5 separate regions of the Homo sapiens genome follow, and all the other regions are linked to region 4. The links are contacts of gene promoters, found by promoter capture Hi-C in human tissues and cell types (Jung and others, 2019). All regions are on one chromosome and are shown on one strand. The core of a region is centred on a gene start or on the middle of the fragment in contact, and the rest is flanking DNA. Distances in the headings are between cores, read along the strand shown. Region 1 overlaps PITPNM2 (phosphatidylinositol transfer protein membrane associated 2). Region 2 overlaps PITPNM2 (phosphatidylinositol transfer protein membrane associated 2). Region 3 holds the start of CCDC62 (coiled-coil domain containing 62). Region 4 holds the start of DDX55 (DEAD-box helicase 55). Region 5 overlaps PITPNM2 (phosphatidylinositol transfer protein membrane associated 2).

Region 1 (2,700 bases), core at 58-2,557, 610 kb before region 4:
CATGGGTGGCTTCCTGGGGATGCCCTGCACATGCAGAGCACAGAGAGAGGCAAGCCCTGAGCATCCCTCACACAGGCCACAGCCAGCAGCCCCTGATGGGCGTTTGGGGACAAAGGCAGGTGCTGGGGGCTCAAGCCAGGCTCACCCAGGCGCAGGCTGAAGACAGGACAGAACAGGGAGGATGGGGCTCAGCCAGACAAGCCACACCTGGACGGGGTACAGGAGGTGCCTGGGTGACCTCAGAAAGCGAAGGAGTGGGCCTTGGGGAATCCAACCCCTCGCTGGGACCAGAAGCTTCCCCAGGTGAGGGGTGGGCCCGGCTGGCTCAAGGCCTCAGTCTGCTTCTGGCAGAGCCCTGGAACTGTCGCTGACTTGCTGTGTGGCCCTGAGACGGCCTCTGCTGTCTCTGAGCTGCTGCGCCCCTTTGCTTTGGCTCTGCCCTGCCTCTGGCCCACAATATGCAGGGAGGAAGCACCGACATCAGCTCCCCAGAGCCGTCCTGCCCAAGTCTCTGTTCCTCACCACCCAGGTCCCACGAACTGTGAGTGGCCAAGGAGGGCATGGATTGGGGGGTGTCCCTGAGGACCAGGTCAACCAACGAAGCAGACGTCACCACGAGCAGGGGAGGGTACACACACTCGGCACAGCCCGGGCGGGGCCCGTCTTGCCAGGTGGGCGCGGGAACAGGCATACTGGTTTCCAGGAAGCCGTCCCCGTGGGGGAGAGGGGCCAGGGGGCCGCCCTCCAGGACCAGCTCAGGGTTTCTCTGCACGGTCTCGACTGGAGGCAGACGGGGAGAGAACAGAGGACAAGAACAGACACTTGCATGGGCCATCCAGACACGCTCTGACACAGAGACTCAGGGCTCCTCGAGGACCAGGACGTGACAAGACGCTGGGACACACGCTGGGGCAGGGGTCGGGCCAAGCCTACCTGGACCTCCCCTGCCCCAACGCATCTCCTGCACCCTATCTCGGGGCCAGCCGCCTGCCATGATGGGACCCAGCCGACCCAGGCCCCCTACTAAGTGAGGGTCCCTGCTGGGTCCTTAGCTCTGTCTCTGTTGGGATGGAGGCTCAGCTGTGGAGAGGGGAGTCTGGTCTTGTTCTGCCCTTTCCCTGCTCCGGGGACCCTGGAACAAGGCCCTGACCTGTGTCCTCTGAAAGGTGGGAACTATCATTTGTGCCTCACAGGGATCAGTGCGGAGGGATGCACCACCCCCACCCCCCACCCCCAACAGCTGTCCACCTCCAAGAGGCATTCAGCACAAGCTGTCCCTCTCACCTGGGGAAGAACCACGTAGCATGGAGGACCTAGGAGCCAGGGAGCCACGCTTACCCCACCTTCCCCCAGAGGAGTGGGGCGGAATGTGCCTCTCACCCAGCAGCGTGGAGCAGCCATCCCCCAGCGGGTAGCGTTGGTAGCGGGGGACGCTGAAAGGCGGCAGGGCGTGAAAGCGCCGTTCCAGCAGCGGCTCCAGGCGTGAAGCTGACGGGTCCGCGGGGTGGAAGAGGTTGTAGACTTGCTGGCAGGCCGGCCGCAGCTGGAAAACTGGGGGTGGGGGTGTTGGCTGCAGAGCTGGGGCTGGCCCTGAGGAGCAGTGGTGGGGGTGGGAAATTTGGGAACTGGGCACTGGGTTGTCTGCTGAAAGTTAGGGATAAGATGGGGGGTGTGTCTCTATCAATTTGGGACCTGTTTGGGTCATTGTCACTTTTTTGTTTGTTTGAGACAGGGTCTTGCTCTGTCACCCAGGCTGGAGGGCAGTGGTGCGATCTTGGTTCACTGTAGCCTCCGTCTCCTGGGCTCAAGTGATCCTACCCCCTCAGCCTCCTGAGTAGCTGGGACCACAGGTGTGCACCACCACACCTGGCTTTTTTATTTTATTTTTTGTAGAGATGGGGTCTTACTATGTTATCCAGGCTGGTCTCAAACTCCTGGACTCAAGTGATCCTCCCACCTGGGCCTCCCAAAGTGCTGGGATTACAGGCGTGAGCCACCACGCCTGACCTCTAATTTTTTTTCATTGCAAAAGTTATAATGATTGTGGTAAAAGGTGGTTTGCAGTACAGAAGAGCATATGATGAAGGGCACATGGTGGAAACCCCTTCCACCCCAGATCCCCCCGAAGCTCCAGCTCATCTTGCGGGAGCACCACCGAGTGCTGGCTAGGGCAGCCCTGCCCTGCCTGTATCGGAAAATGTTTCCCCTTCTGTCAAATGGGGCAGCAGTTCCAACCACGTCATGGAGTTAAGGAGATCACGTGAATGCAAGGTTGTGTTAATTATTAGTGCTGTATCTCACTTTTAGAGGGACATAAACCAGAACATATGCTATGCCTTCTGAACTTTGCCTTTTCCTCCCATTTAACACAAAAAATGTTGGCGTCTTTCATGTCAGCACGTCTAGTTTCTCCTTGCTCTTTTTCAGTGGAGGCGGGTACTCCACTGTGTGGTTGTGCCAGAATTTATTTAACCAGCCCCTCCACATAGACGGACATTTAAGTTGGTTCTGGTTTTTCACAATGACACATAATGGGACCACAACGGTACTGTCCCTAAGTCTCCATGCACCTGTGTGGGACTCTGTGGGGCTGTTCAGAGCCTGCAGTGGCTGGGGCACAGGGATGCCCTCCATGGGGCTGCCTTGGTTGTTGGGGTCCCCTTAAAGCTACCCATTTCTCTTCCTGGCAGTGCTGAAGTC
Region 2 (2,700 bases), core at 62-2,561, 540 kb before region 4:
AACTTGACTGGGTCACCTCCTGGTTAAAACCCTTCAAGAATTCACCTTCATTCACCAAAGCACCCTGAGCTCCTTGCCTTGGCACTGGAAGTCTTTGCACAGGCTGGTGAACTGACACCCTCACCCGTGAGGACCCAGCCCGTCTGGGTGCCATCACCTGGGTCTCCACCTCCACCGGGAAATTCTGACCTACTAAGTTGACCTAGCTCCTGACCTAACTCAAGAGCCACCTTGGCAGTAAAGCCACCCTGACCCTGTGACAGTCCCTCTGCCAAGCCCCCAGCGCCTGACACTTCCACCCAATGCTCACTCAGCAGCTCATCCTGCATGAATGCAGAGTGGCCTGGAGGGAAGTGACTGCACACAGGATATACAGACTCTCCCACCACAAATAAACAAGCGATTCTGTCAACAAAAGAGCCAGAAGAAAACTGCACTCCTATTGGAAAGGGATGAGGAGCGCAGAGGCTGCAAGGAGGGTACCAAGTCAGAGCTGGGAAGGCCCAAGGCAGGGTGGAAGGTGGAGCTCAGAGAGGGTTCCAGGGTCCCTGGGTATAGGCACGGTCCTCCTTATAGGTCACCACCTAAGGGGGCAGCAGTCCTTAAGGGTGCCAGGTTGACATAGGTGGGGTCACAAACCTCAGAAACTGAAGAACTTGCAATCCAACCCTATCATTGGGTAGATGGAAAAATTAAGGCCCAGAAAAGGGCAGACAGTTGATCTACTCATCCTTCCACCTATGCATCCCTACTCGCATCTACCCATGCATCCCTTCACCCATGCATCCACCTATCCATCTACCCATGTAGCTACCGCGCCATTCACTCATGCATGCATCCACTGATCCATCCACCCATGCATTCATCCACCCATGCATCCATCCACCCATGCATCCATCCATCATCTACATAGGGCAGGGGTGGGACTAGAGCCCAGAGCCTCTGCCTCTAAACCCAAAGGTCTTCACAACGGGTCACAGTTGACTTCTTTACACTCACGGCAGCTCTGGGAAACTTTCTGACCCCTTAATGGGTATACAGGAAGAAAGACCCTGCTAGTGGAATGGGGGAAGGGTAACAGGGCTCATGACAAGGCACGGTCTATGCAGGATGCCTGCCCTAAGGCCAATCCTCATCAACAGCTCTGTGAGGGCAGCCAACCCTAAGCCCACTCTGCAGATGAGGAAACAGGAAACAAGCTCTGGAGAGGTCTGCTGACGTGCCTACAATCCAAGGATGGTTAACCACTACAGCCATAACCCTGTCCCAGATCTCTCCACTGTCCAAGAGTAGGCCCTCTCACTGCACTATGGCACGTCAGGCATGGCTTGGGCAGGGTGGATAGGAGGCGTCCCAGTGGGCAAGAAGCTTCTCAGACCAAAGGCTTCTGAGCCAGGGTCAATGTGGTGGATGGTGGGAGTCATTGGTCATCACAAGATGATGCGTCTCACAGGAAATGGGAAAGAACTTGTACACTGGGGAGTCAGAAAAAGGGGGAAGCCTGGGGCTTTCAGGCCCTGACAAAGCTCCTGCATCCAAGGGAGCTTCTGAAGGTTGTAGGAGAAGGTGGCTGCTAGCAGGGTCCCCAAGAACAGCTGCCGACAGAGTTTGGACAAAGTTATGCCATCTCCCTATGTGCCAGTGGCTTCAGAGAGTTCTGGAGGAAAGACCCAAGAGCCGGAGCAGCTATGAGGGCTGGCTGCTGGGAAGAGATGGAGTTGGGTGCGGAGGAAGGCACAGGTGTTCTAACAAAGGGACTCTGAGAAGCAGGAACTACGGTGTAGAGGTAGGCGGTAAGTTCCTAGGGAGGCCCTGCAGCAACTGAGGGGCCCCTGCTCCTCCTCCTCCTTCTCCCTGCCAAGTAGAGCAGCCTGGCTTGCATCTGTCTGCTCCCCTCCGGTGCACCTGGGACCCTGATGCTTGCTGCTTCCCATTTCAACAAATCCAGGGAGACAGGTTCCTGAGTCCCCAGACTCCCTCCCAGACAGGCAGCCAGGTGGAAGGGAAAGTTTGGGGTCCAGCGCCTGCACTTCTCATCTCTCCGTCCTTAGATCTGATACTTGCAACTGAGCCTTGGTTTACTCATCTGTAAAGGGAGGTGGTAATACGTCCAGTGAGGGGGTAGAACACTATGCCTGGCAACCAAGATGTGTTCTGTCACCCACAGGAATACTAAAAATATCTAACCCCTGGGCACTGCTGCTGGCTGTGGGGCTGGGGGAATCCTGGAGGTGCCTGTGGACAGCATTGCCCACTTAGCTCCAGAAATCCCAGGGAAGGGACAATAAGGGGGACGGGGCAGGGGCAGAGGCTATTTACCAGCAAAAAAAAGTACAGCACTCTTGCTCTTGGGGCTAGATGTATCTAGGATTTCAGAATATCCTGAACTTTAGACAGGTAAAGCTGCATATCTCAGCAGCATCCAATAAACAAATACATTGAACTCTCTGCAGTGAAAGACATGAATATAGAATACATAAAGACTATAAATAGCCTCACTTGGACTATAAATAGCCTCACCTCAGTTCAGGAAAAATTTTGCTGCCAAATGAGTTACAAAAAAGTGTCTGGTTTTCAGTGTGCTGGATTTTGGAATTGAGGATAAGGAATTGTGGATCTGCACATCAATGTTTTCACCACATATCTGTGTGAACCAACTGCATATCACCCCTGCTTCACCCCACTACCAATGCAGGACAG
Region 3 (2,700 bases), core at 15-2,514, 830 kb before region 4:
AACCCATCTCTACTAAAAATACAACAAAGGTGGCGTGGTGGCGGGCACCTGTAATCCCAGCTACTCGGGAGGCTGAGGCAGGAGATTTGCTTGAGGCCAGAGGCAGAGTTTGCAGTGAGCCGAGATTGTGCCATTGCACTCCAGCTCAGGCAACAAGAGCCAGACTCCATCTCAAAAAAAAAAAAAAAAAAAGTTTTTTAGAGGTGGGTGTCACCATGTTGCTCAGGCTGGTCTCAAACTCCTGAACGCAACAGATCCTCCTACATTGGCCTCCCAAAGTGCTGGGGTTACAGGCCACTGCGCCCAGCTTTCTTGATTTTAAATTCTAAGACATTGCTTTGGTCTCCCAAACATGAGCCTATCAGTAAAGCTTCAAAATAAGAAATCTTAATTTTGTTTTTCCATTTTCAGATTGTATTTTTTGAACACAAGGGCATGTTTTGGCATTTCATATTCAACCAAAAAGTAAAGTTGAAACCCTGTAAGACCGACCGTATTTAGTAATTGTGTTGCTGTCTGATGGGTTAAGCATTCAGGGATGGGCAGCCGGGGCTGAAGTGTGATAAGCCTTATTTTTTCCTAGTCCCGTTCCCACATCTTAGGAAGAGTGAAAGGGGGATGAAGAGGTGACTATGGAAGAACAGGTGAAAAAGCTTAGATTCAACCCAGAATATCGTAGATTTTGTCATGACAAAGTACCGTGGTTCTCCTCATTGCTTTTCAGGAGCTCCCAAGAGTAAATTTCCCCCTCTTCATCTGTGATTCTTGGTTTAAAGTATCAAAGGTGCTAGGGTAGCCCGCAACTGTTATCCCCGAGGGCTGGGCTCTGCCTCCACGCATTCGAGTGTCAGGTCCTGTTCTGGGAGCCAGCTACACAGGAGCGAGCACGGCCGAGCTCACGGTTATTAGGGGGAAGATGGAAGATAGGGAAGTGAGCAACTCAAATGTCATAAACCAGAGTGCTGGGGGCGGCGCAGCAGCCTTTATTGACTTCTTCATTCTCTGGGTAGTGGTGAACAGCCGGTTCTTTCAGGCCTTCCAGCGCCGGAGCCTCGGGCGTGGGCAAAAAGCGTCCATACGCAGCCTGAGCCACTTGGGAGCCCCCAGTTTCCGAGGCAGAAGAACAGTGCCCACCAGCGCAGCGGGGCTGCGGCCCGGAAACCCTGGCGGGGAGCCCCGAGCCCCGGCGGGCGCACGCCGCGTGGGCACCAGGCAGGCGGTTGGAGTACGGGGCGGGGGTCGGCCGAGGGCGCGGGGCCCCGGGGCTCCGGGCTCGCCCCCGCCGCTCGGGGCAGGCGCGCCGATGGCGTTTCTGAGGTGACGCCGCCCACACCGGGCTTCTCCGGGGGCGGAGGAAACACCTATGAACCCTCCGGCAGCCTTCCTTGCCGGGCGCCAGGTAAGCAGCGGTTCCGGGCGCGGCGGGGCGCCGCGGGAACGGTGCACATTGGTCGAAATCTATTGCTTCTCAAGAACGGTGTCTACTTAAAATGTGAAACAGGCCGGGCGCGGTGGCTCACGCCTGTAATCCCAGCGCTTTGGGAGGCGGAGGCGGGCGGATCACGAGGTCAGGAGATCGAGACCATCCTGGCTAACACAGTGAAACCCCGTCTCTACTAAAAATAAAAAAAAAAAAATTAGCCGGGCGTGGCGGCGGGCGCCTGTAATCCCAGCTACTCGGGAGGCTGAGGCAGGAGAATGGCGTGAACCCGGGAGGCAGAGCTTGCAGTGAGCCGAGATCGCGCCACTGCACTCCAGCCTGGGCGACAGAGCGAGACTCCGTCTCAAAAAAAAAAAAAAAAAAAAAAAGTGAAACAATACACTAGAGGAAAACGGCGTCACGACCGTTTCCTTAACCCAATAACACCTTGTTATTCAGCCCGGGCCACAGAGTAGCGCGTACCCGGTGCTTACTGTTTAAGGAGGACGATTGGCGTCTGGGGAGCTGCTTTCCCATTTACCTCTCAGGGTGTCCTTAATTTACACAACCTGGCGAGTAGAGGAAGGAGCTCTCACAACTCCACTGTACCAAAAAGTCTGGAAGTGGGCTTGCCCAAGGTTCGCGTCCATCAGTGTAAGACGACCTGCCTTTGTGTACTCGGCTTACTGCCTGTTTTCCTGGAGTGGAATATGTGCTCCTTGCCTGGAGGTCTGTGGCCCAGCCACTGGCGCTCAATAAATTATTTGTTGAGTGCATGAATGAAGGGCTAACCCAACACTGGAATTCAAGCCTTGGGACTTGAAATCCCTTGACTCCAAATTCCATTTTCCTTGTTAAGACTAGCAACTGTAATTTATTCATCATTCTTATTTATTTATTTTTGAGACAGGGTCTGGCTCTGTCCCCAGGGCTGGAGTACAGTGACGCAATGTCGGCTTACTGCAGCCTCTGCTTCCCGAGTTCAAGCAATCCTCCCGCCTCAGCCTCCCAAATAGCTGGGACTACAGGCTCCCACCACCATGCCGAGCTAATTTTTGTGTTTTTAGTAGAGACAGGGTTTCGCCATGTTGGCCAGGCTGGTCTCGAACTCCCGACCTCAGGTGATCTGCCCACCTCGGCCTTCCAAAGTGCTGGGATTACAGGCGTGAGCCACTGAGCCCAACCTCATTATTCTTGTTTATTTACAAATCTTACTTTTCAAAAAGCAGTAAGGAGGTACAAAGGGCCTCTGTTGAACCTTTAATTACTGTCTTTAAGGT
Region 4 (2,700 bases), core at 150-2,649:
GCGATTCTTCTGCCTCAGGCTCCTGAGTAGCTGGGACTACAGGCATGCGCCACCACGCCTGGCTAATTTCTGTATTTTTAGTAGAGACGGGGTTTCACCATATTGGCCAGGCTGGTCTCGAACTCCTGACCTTGAGATCTGCCCGCTTTGGCCTCCCAAAGTGGTGAGATTACAGGCGTGAGCCACCGTGCCAGGCCAATAATTTCTTTATGGCCAGTTTTTTCACAGAAAGGTGGAGAGAGAGTAATATTTTTAGGTTTTATGGCTGACTGTGGAGAAAAGGGATTCCTGTTTCTATGCTCCGTCATGGGCAAGAGGGATTCTTGAGTTTCTATGGCTAGCCTCAGAGAATCAGAGATCAGAGAGGGAGCAGAAGGTCAGAGAGAAACTTGCTTCTGAGGCTGCCTCTGGGGCCTTCATTTTGGGGTTTCGTTTTCAGAGCCTCAACAGGAGCAAGCCATGCACATAGGTGGAGGAGATAGGCCCTCATAGAGGGCACATAATGAGTGGTCAATAAAAGTTTGCTGAGTGAAGGCCGGGCGCGGTGGCTCACGCCTGTAATCCCAGCACTTTGGGAGGCCGAGGCGGGCGGATCACGAGGTCAGGAAATCGAGACCATCCTGGCTAACACGGTGAAACCCCGTCTCTACTAAAAATACAAAAAATTAGCCGGGCGTGGTGGAGGGCGCCTGCAGTCCCAGGTACTCGGGAGGCTGAGGCAGGAGAAGGGCGTGAACCCGGGAGGCGGAGCTTGCAGTGAACCGTTATAGCGCCCAGCCTCCAGCCTGGGCAACAGAGCGAGACTCCGTCTCAAACAACAACAACAACAACAACAACAACAAAAACAGCTTTCTGAGTGAAGTTGTATGTGGACATGAATGGCCCAGGCAAACAGTGAACAGAGGAATGGGACAGTGTTCTTAGTTAGGACTCTGACCCTAACTTCCGGGAAAGTAAACCAACATTCAGGACGTACCGGCCATCGGACCGCAACATTCAGGACGTACCGGCCATCAGCGGGTGCCTGTTTTGCAGGGCTGCTAACCCGGGTCCCCGACACGTTTCTCTGCCCACGGTAGCCAGCCCCGCTGTCCTTCGGCCTGGACGCGGTCCTGTGCTGCCACCTGCCTCCGAGGGGCAGAGAAAGTGGGAGGGCCGGGCCAGAATCCCTCCCGCCAAAACTCCTGCCCGGTGCGGAGAGGCGCCCGGAGCCCAGGGCGCTGTGCGGAGCGGGTGTAACTCCCCAGGCCTGCCCCGCCGCCTGCCTCCACCGTCCCGCGGACGCCTTTCCTCCCTCCCGCGGCGTGGGAGCCTTCGCCGCGCTCCGGAACTCTGCTGCTCCAGCGAAGTTCCCGGCCGGCCGCTGGAGCTGCGGGAAGCGGAAGTGCTCGTTGGGGGTGCACAAGGCGCGTTCGAGCAGCGGCGACCGACGCGGCGAAGGAGCGCGCCATGGAGCATGTGACAGAGGGCTCCTGGGAGTCGCTGCCTGTGCCGCTGCACCCGCAGGTGCTGGGCGCGCTGCGGGAGCTGGGCTTCCCGTACATGACGCCGGTGCAGGTATCGGTTCCCTGGCGTGGGGGAGTGAGGCTGGGAGAGGGGCAGGCACCCGCTGCATCGGACCCACAGGAGGTGATCGGACAGATCTGAGCCCTGGGGCGCTCATCCCTCCAGCTGGGGCTCTTGCCTTGTCTCCAGCTGCCCAGACTGGCGGAATGCGGAGCTGCCCGGCCAGCGAGCCGGCAGAGGGGCCGCGACCCACCCCGCCCTCGGGTGCTGTGGTCTCAAGCCTGGTTCTCATCCTGGCCCTGCTCGCTGTAGCTGTGAGACCTCGGGCAAATGGCTTAACCTCTCCGTGCTTCATTTTCCTTCTCTGTGAAATGACGAAAAAATAACACCCTCCTTATGGGGTTGCTGTGGGGACTAAATAAACCAGTCGGCACACTATGGGAGCTCAGTAAGGGTTACCGTTGTTATGCATCTCTTCAAGAATATTTCTTGAGGACCTGCTATGTGTCAGGAACTCTTCTAGGCTCTGGGGAGTTTGCAGTATTGGCATCTGCTCATAGCCTTACTTTCTAGTGCAAGAGCTAGAGAAAGGATAATTTCAGCTGCTGGTAAGTGTTATGAAAGAACTAAGACGGTTGTGATAGTGTCGCGCGAGGACTGCAGAGGAGGTGAGATAGGGTGTTAAGGAAGGCCTCTCTGAGGAGGTGCATTGAGCTGAGACCTCAGTGATTGAGAAGGAGCTGGCTCTGAGGTGACTAGGGGGAGATTATTCCACTGGAGAGAAATACCAGTGCACATAAATGCCCTGCGGCAGGCTGCAAATAGTTTGAGCAGCAGAAAGGAGGCCTTTGTGGCTGAACATCAAGAGTAGTGTAAGAGATGGATTGTGCAGGGTCTTGTAGGCGCTTGGATTTCATTCTAAATGTAGTGGGAAGCCATCTTATCTGGGAGGATGTTTAGGAAGGGAAGGGCTGTGATTTCTCTGTAGAGAGTGGCCTTTCCAGGCATAAGAGATGAAGCAGGCAGGTCGCTTAGGAGGCCATTGTCAGGTAAGAGATGATGGTGACTTGGAGTAGGGTGGAACCAGTGGATACTGAGAAGTCACATTTGGGATAGCTTTAAGGTTGCTAAGGGACTGGAAGTGGAGGTTAGGAAAGAAAAGACTACAGGACCTGAGGTTTTTATTCTTTTTTT
Region 5 (2,700 bases), core at 33-2,532, 560 kb before region 4:
GACACCTGGATGGACTTCCAGCTGGCTGGGAGGGTAGCACAGGCACCTGATCTGAGAAACTTACATACATAAAGGAGAGAGAGCTTTATGTTTGAGGGAAGTTGGAGGAAATTAGGGTTGGAGACGGGAAGGGAAAATTGAAGTTCAATGGGGGTTGTTTCTGAAGCTTCTTCACGTGGTTCTTCATTGAAGCCCCAGCATCGCCCAACTAGGAAGGCACAGCAGGTGCTTGGTGTGAAGCAGTACACCTGTGTGACGTGCAGCACCCACTCCGCCTCTGTGGGGCCTCAGGTGGGCTCCTTTACTGTGGGGCAAATGCAGTGACCCAGAGTGGGCAAGTCTCATTTAGTCATCTAAATAACATGGTCAGACACAGACTCTAAATGTTCTTCAGAAACCTTACGAGTCTAAGCATTCTGCCCTTTGGGAGTCTTAACCCCTCCAGCGTACATGACCTGCCCTGCTCATCCCCATGCAAATCAGTCCTTTCTCAATCCTCTCAGATTCCAGGCTCACCAGGCACTAGCAAGGTAGGACCCCCTGAGCCAGATTCATAATGTTCCTTAAATGTCTCCATCACCTCAAATAACAACCAGGGGTGAAATCTCGCAGCCTGAGCCAGCACCCAGACACTGGCTTGGGTCTCTGATTTCAAAGGCTCTGTGAGCACATGTCTGGAACAGATACCTAATGATGTTCCCCCACGGACAAGCTGTCAGGTGAGCTGTTAATTGCACAGGTGCTGTCCACAGCTCCGCTGGGATATTTTTGCGTGCAGGCAGAGGGACAGAGACAGAGAGGGAACACACACCTGGAGGGCCCAGAGGCCCCTTGGAGGCTCCTGGCACCTGGGTGGAGTGGGGCAAAGCTTAGGACCGTGCAAGGGCAGCAGCCACATGGTGGAAGAGCATCAGAAAGTGCAAGTGCTCAGGATGCAATTCCATCAAGGCTGGCTTAGGGAAAAGCAACCGTGTTTCTGCCCACAAGGAACTAAAGAGCTGTAGAGGTAAGTAAGTAGGTACATACATGGATAGGAAGAAGGAAAAAACAAATAAATCGTTCTATATCTTACAGTTAAATGCACGGGTGACTAATAGGAGAGAGGACTCAGAACTCTAAGAGTGACACAGAATGTGACGGGAGGTGACAGTTTGGAGCTCACTCTGGGATCTGACTGCAAAGCCTCACAATGCCTTTACCAGCTGTGTGACCTCCTGGAAAAGCCCCTGTATCTGCTGAGCCTCGGTCTCTCCATATATAAAATGGGGATAATACTATCTGACTTCTGGAGTTACCATGAGTGTCATGAAAACAAGATAAGTTGCTCAGTCCAGAGGGGTCTCAGGAAAGGCTTCATGGAAGGCGGAGCCAGGCTCTCTGAGATCCATGGGATTCTGCTCGGCAGAGCTGAGGGCGGGTGTGAGAAGTACTCAATCCAGTAAGAAGGAACAGCGTGAGCAAAGGCCCCAGGGCAGGAACGTGGGGCTCCATTGAGTGGCTTCCCACCATGTGCCCCTGGCATGGCCAGGCTGCATCTTGGGGAGATGAGGTGGGGCTCTCTGAAGCATGAGTTTAGGGGCTTAGACATCCTTAAAGTCATCTAAAAAATAATTACCTGGCCGGGCACGGTGGCTCACACCTATAATCCTAGCACTTTGGGAAACCAAGGCAGGAGGATTACCTGAGCCCAGGAGTTCAAGACCAGCCTGGGCAATACAGTGAGATACTGTCTCTTCAAAAAATCATACACTTAAAAAAAATTAGCTGGGCAAGGCGGCAGACACCTGTAATCCAGACACTTGGGGAGGCTAAGGGCAGAGCTGAGGGTAGGTGTGAGAAGGACTCAATCCAGTAAGAAGGAACAGCGTGAGCAAAGGCCCCAGGGCAGGAACATGGGGCTCCATCGAGTGGCCTCCCACCATGCACCCCTGGCACGGCCGGGCTGCATCCTGGGGAGATGAGGTGAGAGGATGGCTTGAGCACAGGAGGTCAAGGCTGCAGTGAGCCATGTTTGCGCTACTGCACTCCAGCCTGAATCACAGAGCAAGGCCCTGTCTCAAAAATAAATAAATACATAAAATTCAAAAAAAAAGAAAAAATTATCTGATGTTGAAATCCAACTAACCAAAAAGATAAGTCAAAATGAGGTAATAAATGGAGAAATCCTGATGAACACGGCATTGATATTTTGAAATCATGGCAATTATGTGATTGAACTGACTATCAAAACCTCAACACTGTACACAAATGATAATACAACTAAGACAAATTTGGAGAAGAACAAAGGTAGAAATATCGTTTCCTCAACTTCCATAGCATAGAAGTTGGTTCATTAAGTAGGTAGAAAAATTAGTGAGAGATGAACAGGCAGAGAATGGAGGATTTTTAGGGCAGTAAAAGTACTCTGTGGGATACTACAATGGCGGATGCATGTCCTCATACATTTGTCCAAACCCACAGAAAGTACAACATCAAGAGTGAGCCCTTGTGTAATCTACGGACTTAGGGCGATGCCATGTCACTGCAGGCTCATTCATTGTAACAAACAGGGCACATTGATGTGTGATGCTGAGAGTGGGGGAAGGGGCATATGGGAACTCCGTACTTGCCACTCAATTTTGCTGTGAATCTAAAACAGCTCTTAAAAAAAATAAAGTTTAGGTGGCTCACGCCTTAATCCCAGTACTTTGGGAGGCCAAA

Evidence for each region. The method cuts DNA at HindIII sites, captures the fragments that hold promoters and counts their contacts. A contact is called where the count stands out against the background at its distance.
Region 1: a contact is called between a fragment that was not itself captured here and the fragment with the promoter of DDX55 in region 4, in 1 of the 25 tissues and cell types used here (lymphoblastoid cells).
Region 2: a contact is called between a fragment that was not itself captured here and the fragment with the promoter of DDX55 in region 4, in 2 of the 25 tissues and cell types used here (dorsolateral prefrontal cortex and lymphoblastoid cells).
Region 3: a contact is called between the fragment with the promoter of CCDC62 here and the fragment with the promoter of DDX55 in region 4, in 1 of the 25 tissues and cell types used here (hippocampus).
Region 5: a fragment that was not itself captured here is called in contact with the fragment with the promoter of DDX55 in region 4 in 2 of the 25 tissues and cell types used here (bladder and dorsolateral prefrontal cortex).

What each region holds. Positions count from the first base shown.
Region 1 is chr12:122,991,119-122,993,818 of GRCh38, forward strand. It overlaps PITPNM2 (phosphatidylinositol transfer protein membrane associated 2), which reads right to left. Exons shown (of 26, transcript NM_020845.3): 16 at 1,381-1,551. Among named protein-coding and RNA genes, the nearest start is that of ARL6IP4, 12 kb to the left of the region's middle. The HindIII fragment of the contact is 5,083 bases long and covers 1-2,700 here.
Region 2 is chr12:123,060,202-123,062,901 of GRCh38, forward strand. All of the region lies in intron 2 of PITPNM2 (phosphatidylinositol transfer protein membrane associated 2), which reads right to left. Among named protein-coding and RNA genes, the nearest start is that of PITPNM2-AS1, 20 kb to the right of the region's middle. The HindIII fragment of the contact is 7,256 bases long and covers 1-2,700 here.
Region 3 is chr12:122,773,308-122,776,007 of GRCh38, forward strand. It overlaps CCDC62 (coiled-coil domain containing 62), which reads left to right and starts at 1,265. Exons shown (of 13, transcript NM_201435.5): 1 at 1,265-1,399. The coding sequence starts at 1,364. RefSeq lists silencers at 1,103-1,312, 1,835-2,129 and enhancers at 1,412-2,105, 1,493-1,632. The HindIII fragment of the contact is 10,219 bases long and covers 1-2,700 here.
Region 4 is chr12:123,600,700-123,603,399 of GRCh38, forward strand. It overlaps DDX55 (DEAD-box helicase 55), which reads left to right and starts at 1,400. Exons shown (of 14, transcript NM_020936.3): 1 at 1,400-1,557. The coding sequence starts at 1,450. RefSeq lists a silencer at 1,762-1,871 and an enhancer at 2,112-2,161. The HindIII fragment of the contact is 15,410 bases long and covers 1-2,700 here.
Region 5 is chr12:123,037,201-123,039,900 of GRCh38, forward strand. All of the region lies in intron 2 of PITPNM2 (phosphatidylinositol transfer protein membrane associated 2), which reads right to left. Among named protein-coding and RNA genes, the nearest start is that of MIR4304, 28 kb to the left of the region's middle. The HindIII fragment of the contact is 3,834 bases long and covers 1-2,700 here.